2 separate regions of the Homo sapiens genome follow, and region 2 is linked to region 1. The links are contacts of gene promoters, found by promoter capture Hi-C in human tissues and cell types (Jung and others, 2019). All regions are on one chromosome and are shown on one strand. Each heading gives the region's core, a stretch centred on a gene start or on the middle of the fragment in contact. The rest is flanking DNA. Distances are from core to core; before and after follow the strand shown.

The links. The method cuts DNA at HindIII sites, captures the fragments that hold promoters and counts their contacts. A contact is called where the count stands out against the background at its distance.
Region 2: a fragment that was not itself captured here is called in contact with the fragment with the promoter of ST3GAL2 in region 1 in 1 of the 25 tissues and cell types used here (dorsolateral prefrontal cortex).

Annotation. Positions count from the first base shown.
Region 1 is chr16:70,437,548-70,440,552 of GRCh38, reverse strand. It overlaps ST3GAL2 (ST3 beta-galactoside alpha-2,3-sialyltransferase 2), which reads left to right and starts at 1,453. Exons shown (of 7, transcript NM_006927.4): 1 at 1,453-1,604. RefSeq lists silencers at 1,302-1,481, 1,582-1,781. The HindIII fragment of the contact is 4,621 bases long and covers 1-3,005 here.
Region 2 is chr16:71,733,907-71,736,911 of GRCh38, reverse strand. AP1G1 (adaptor related protein complex 1 subunit gamma 1) reads left to right here. Exons shown (of 23, transcript NM_001128.6): 22 at 2,205-2,303. Among named protein-coding and RNA genes, the nearest start is that of PHLPP2, 11 kb to the right of the region's middle. The HindIII fragment of the contact is 3,526 bases long and covers 1-3,005 here.

The DNA.
Region 1 (3,005 bases), core at 204-2,703:
CTCAGCCTCCCAAGTAGCTGGGATTACAGGCACGCACTACCACACCCAGCTAATTTTTGCATTTTTGGTAGAGACAGGGTTTTGCCATGTTGGTCAGGCTGGTCTTAACTCCTGGCCTCATGTGATCCACCTGCCTCAGCCTCCCAAAGTGCTGGGGTCGTGATGACATCACTGCACTCCAGCCTGGGCGACAGTGAGACCTTGAGCAAAAACAAAGAGCGTTCCTGTGCTAAAGGGGACTAGACTGGGACCCTGCCTTTCCGGGTTTGGCTCTTCAGGGCCATTATTAATTATCCCACACAAGGGCCATCCTTGAAAGAGGATACCGGTGTGTTAGCAGCAAACACCAACAGCAGAGGTTATCAGGTTATCAAGGTAGTAACCGGCAGCATGAGCAACACCTGGAGACGGGGTAGCAATGCCAATTCTGGGGCCTGCCCTAGAGCTAAAAGAACCAGAAGCTGAGGGTGGGGGCAGCAATCTGCGTTTAAACAAGCTGGCCAAGAGGATCCCATACACACCAAAAATTCAGAACCACTTCAGCCTCACTTCAGCCTGTTGGAGGGCGAAACTGCAGTCTACCTGGAGTTTCATAAAGGTTTTGAAATAGGTGCGGAAGTTAGGGAAAGGATGGGCTAATAAAAGACATGGCAAATATTTAAAATGCATTCACTTTACCCTCAACAGCAGGAAGCTACGGGCATCTAAGAGAGAGCCTGCAAGGGGGAGATGCCCCGGTGGATGAGGAACCAATAGACACTCTGCCCCCTTTTCCTCTTTTCCTAGGTGGGGAACACAAAGTCCAGCGAGGCCAAACCCCCGCTCGCACCGCTGATGGGGTCTCTCTCCCCTCAGGCCAGGGCGCAGCGGCCCCACCGCAGCTCGGGCTTTCAGAGCCCGGGCGTGAAGCCAAGCTGGCCTCAGGTCGCGGCTCTTTGAGAGCGCGAGTGGGAACAGTGCCCTCCGGCCGGGCTCGTCAGCAGCTGGCCACAGCAGCATCTGAGAGGCGTCCTCGGCTAGTGTGCACCTCCCTAGGAACCCACGTATCCAACCCGGCTCGGGGCCGTCTGCTCCAGCCGCTGGAGCCCGGCCTTCTGAGAATGAAGACTTCCCATCCCCCTCCGTCTCCCCTCCTGCACGGCGGACCCCCTGAGCCCTAGCGAAACTACAAAGCCCACAATCCCTGGGATGCGCGCGCTGTCTTCTGGGAGATGTAGTCCTGGATGCGGGGCGCCCCTAGCGACCCAGCGCCCGCTGGACTCCATATCCCAGCATGCCGGCGCGCGTGCGGGGGGCGGAGGGAGGGAGAGACGGGGAGGATGTGAATGGGGTGGGGGCAGTCGCCCCTGTCCCCCACCCTTCCCTTCAAGCCGGGCAGGGGTGGGGGGAGGGGCCGGGCTGAGGCGGCGGCGGCGGCGGCGCTCGGGGAGGGTTGGGCCAGGCAAGGGCGGGACTAGCCCACGGCGGGCGGACGAGAGAGCTGCGAGCTAACGGGTCCGGACGACGGCGGCGGCGGCGGCGGCGGCGGCGACGGCTTTCTGCGCGGGCGGCGGCGGCGGCCGGAGCGGCGAGCATGGCCCGCGCGGCGCCGGGCGCTGACTGAGGTGCGCGGGTGGGATGAGGGCGGGCGGGATGCAGAGCGCCCCGGGCCCCCGGCTGCCCAGACCTCCCCTGCGCGGGCAGCTGGCGCGGCCCAGCGGCCCAGACCGGCCCGTTCCAGCCCGGCAACTTCCCCCGGGTCGGGGCGCCGGGCTCCCTCGTGTGGGCGGGGGTCCGCGCGCGTTGGCCTCATTCCGGATCCCCGCCTTCTGCTTTGCACGTCCAGCCGCTCCCAGCCTCCCAGGGCTCCCGCTCCGCTCCTTTGCCGGCAGCCCCCAACCCCAACCCCAGCCCCAGCCCCAGCCCTCGGAAGAGCTCTCTGCCCTGGTCCCGACTTCCAGTCCACTCCCTAGTTCGTACCGCTAACCCTGGGTCTCCCGGCCTCTGCTCCACCTGGGAGACCCCGGCCCCACTCTTGGCCAGAGCCTGTCTGCCCCATCAGCTCCTCTTTCCTCTCTCCCCTGTGATCTTTCCCCTACCTGGCACTGCCCCCTAACCATCCTCAGTGGCCCAGTTCTCACGGCTCGACCTTCCTACTTTGGGGAAACTGAGGCACGGCTGAAGCCAGAAACTTGGCCAAAGCGCCAGTCCCGTGGAGGCTGGTCTGAACCTCGTCTCTCCTCTCTCCTGTTCCTTCTCTGCCTTGGAATGGAAGTCATTTCTTACCCCCAGTCATTCCCCTGTGACTGGACCAAACTTCCCACCCCCTGCTACAGCTCTGGGCTGAGCTCACTTGAGTCTCCCCTTAGCTTCCTGCCGCTCCTGTTGGCCTTCCCTCCTTCGCATAACCCACTCCGGGTTCCCTCTGCCTGTAGAGGAGTCAGCACCAATTGCTTGCTTGCTCAAGTTAGCCTTTCGATTTATCTTTTGCCAACTGCATCCATCTCCCGTCTCCCATCTTCCCTCTTGCTTTACAGCTGCGTAAAGGAGCGGAGGATTGAGTCAAAGGTGGTGTTGGAGAAAGGGGCTAGAGAGGTGCTGGGGGCAGGCAGGGACCTGGGGCCTCTTTTCAGTCAAAGCCTCCGGGGGAGTACAGGGCACTCTGGGACCTCTGGCCAGTAACACACTCCCGCCTCGTCTTTGGGACGGATGTTTGGAAGCTGGTTGGCCACCCCTTCCTTGCCTGGTGGGCTCTGAAGCCCTTCTCAGGTGGAAGGTATCGCTGGTTTTTAGAGAGATGGTGGCATAAGAGGAGTCTGGGAGACCACACCCCTAAGCTTCATCTTGCTTCTGCTGCTAACTTTGGAGGGGTTGCCCTTTCAGGGAGGGATGCCTGCTGGCTGCCCTGATCTCTCTGTGGAGGAAGGCACAGAGTATGTGGGCGGTGATCTCAAGTTTAGTCGTGGGACTCAGGATTTAGAGGGAACGAGGGCTCAGAGAGGTGGCACAGATTTGCCTGTATTATT
Region 2 (3,005 bases), core at 157-2,656, 1.3 Mb before region 1:
CTTAAAATGTCATATTTTGCTGGGCGCGGTGGCTCACGCCTGTAATCCCAGCACTTTGGGAGGCCGAGGCAGGCGGATCCCACGAGGTCAGGAGATTGAGACCATCCTGGCTAACACGGTGAAACCCCGTCTCTACTAAAAAAAAAAAAAAAAAAAAAATTAGCCGGGCGTGGTGGCGGGCGCCTGTAGTGTCAGCTACTTGGGAGGCTGAGGCGGGAGAATGGCGTGAGCCCGGGAGGTGGAGCTTGCAGTGAGCCGAGATCACCCCACTGGACTCCAGCCTGGGCAACAGAGCGAGACTCGTCTCAAAAAATAAATAAATAAATAAATAAATAAATAAATAAATAAATAAATAAATAATAAATTAGCCGGGCGTGGTGGCGGGCGCCTGTAGTCCCAGCTACTCAGGAGGCTGAGGCAGGAGAATGGCATGAACCTGGGAGATGGAGCTTGCAGTGAGCCGAGATCGCACCACTGCACTCCAGCCTGGGCGACAGAGCGAGACTCCATCTAAAAAAAAAAAAAAAGTCATATTTTATAGGTTCTACTATGTACTAATTTCGTGTTTTAATGTTTCTAAAATTAGGATACATTTAAAAATTGGTATCTTGTCATAATTCAGTGGGCAGCATGTTTTCTATCTCAGTGGTACATAAAATAATGGTGTGAATTACGATTGGTATCTTACATTTAATGAAATATGGTAGTAATGAATAATACTTTAGCTTACATAATTTTAATGTGGCAGAATTATGAATAAGACCATATATATATATATATATATATATATATATTTTTTTTTTTTTTTTTTTTGAGATGGAGTCTCACTCTGTCACCCAGGCAACCTCTGCCTCCTGGGTTCAAGCAAATCTCTTGCCTCAGCCTCCTGAGTAGCTGGGATTACAGGCATGCGCCACCATACCCAGCTAATTTTTGTATTTTTAGTAGAGATGGGGTTTTGCCATGTTGACCAGACTAATCTAGATCTCCTGACCTCAGGTGATCTGCCCGCCTTGGCCTCCCAAAGTGCTGGGAATACCGTGCCCAGCCCCCAGTGTAATATATCTGTACATTGAGAGTGAATCTTCACTCTTGCAACTTTTGGCCCTAGAGAAGACTAGTGTCTCTCTCTCTCAAATATTTTAGAAGTTTAATCTACTTTTAGGAAAGATTTTCAAATGCTAGTTCATACAATAGCTACGTAGTACAGTATGGTTTACCTAGCTTGCCCTATATAGCACTTTTTTTTTTTTTTTGAGACGGAGTCTTGCTCTGTTGCCCAGGCTGGAGTGCAGTGGCACAGTCTCGGCTCACCACAACCTCCTGGGTTCAAGCGATTCTCCTGCCTCAGCCTCCCGAGTAGCTGGGACTACAGGCATGTGCCACCATGCCCAGCTAATTTTTGTATTTTTAGTAGAGACGGGGTTTCACTGTGTTGGCCAGGCTGGTCTCGAACTCCTGACCTCGTGATCCGCTCGCCTTGACCTCCCAAAGTGCTGGGATTACAGGCTTGAGCCACCACACCCAGCCAGCACTTTCAACTCTTATTTCTATAAGCAAGCAAATAAACCCCACCAGCATTCAACAAATTAATACTGTTTGGCTTATCTAGGTCTTTTGCTGTATAGGCTGGTTCTGCAAGTCTTTCCGTTCCTTCTGTCATGTGGAGAGGAGGCTCTGACACATTATAGATTATGCAGGCTTTAAAAAACAAAAGTTCAAGTCTCTGCATCCCAGTTATCCAATCACACAAAAGCCTAAAAGCTTATAGTTGGTGACCAGTATGTTGGTTTGCTATTTTTGGGAAGCTTTTCTTTTCATTTCTTTCTGGCTGTTTTTTAAGCCAAAAGCACCGATATTTTACTTGCATAGTTGATCAGTTACCATTAAGTGAAGTTGCCAGAAGAAGAATTGGTCAGCTTTTGAAAAGAGGTAGGCTAGAATTCCTTCTGCCAGAAAGGAGAATGTGGTTTATTACTAGTTGTCATGATCAAAGAACCGAACAGTGGATTTTTACAAATACCACAGGGAGTCAACTCACGTGCTGTGAATTCCTGATATCTAGAAAACAAGTAGTAGGCAAAACTTAGTAGTAGTGAAATCTGTTGCTTGACCCATCATCTGGGTGTCTAAATGGTTTTTGGTATCTCTGACCTAGCGTTGTGTAATTCTTTTTCTGAAGAGTGCCCTTTGTTCCCCCCTAGACATTCCAGCTGCAGCTCTTGTCTCCTAGCAGCAGCATTGTCCCAGCATTTAACACGGGGACCATCACACAAGTCATTAAAGTTCTGAACCCTCAGAAGGTGAGTAGCACATTTGTAGCCAATATCTGAGCCGAAGTGTAAGCATATTTCCCGAAATAAAATTCTGCTTTGTTTCTTTAGGTTTTTCTGACTCATAGTTAGAGAAGAGATCAATGAAAATGCCTGGTCTAACTTCCTTGCTCTTTTGTAAATAACAAATGGAACCCAGAGACATCAGGTGGCTTAGTGGCATCTTATTAAAATGCAACTTCAAAAAAAGCTAGATTAAAGGTCTGGTTTTTGGGGGTAGGGGAGAAGCTTAGACATTTTAATTTATACACAAGTTGAAATCTGAGGTAAGAGCATTTGTTGAAACCAAATACCTACATTTACTGCTACAGTTATTAAGTATGAATAGAAAAATAGAGGCATTTTAAATGAAGCAGCCAAATGAAAAATAGCTTTAGAAACTGAAATTAAGCAATATTTTTATTATCTCTTCTCAAAGAAATAAGCTCACCTTAATAGTAATCAGTTGGTTTTCAGTTTTTGAAAATGGTTCAGAGAATTTCTTTAATAGAGCTCTACTAGTTGCTCATAAGTAACAGTATACTTTCTTTCTCTTGTAACACTTGCCTTTCCTCTGCTATTCACTATATTTTGAGCATCGGCCTCTATAGTACAAGCACAAACTCCTTTGACCATCTGATACAGAGAGTAAAAAATGTCTTAGTGCATTTGTATTTGAAATCTGCCATACAA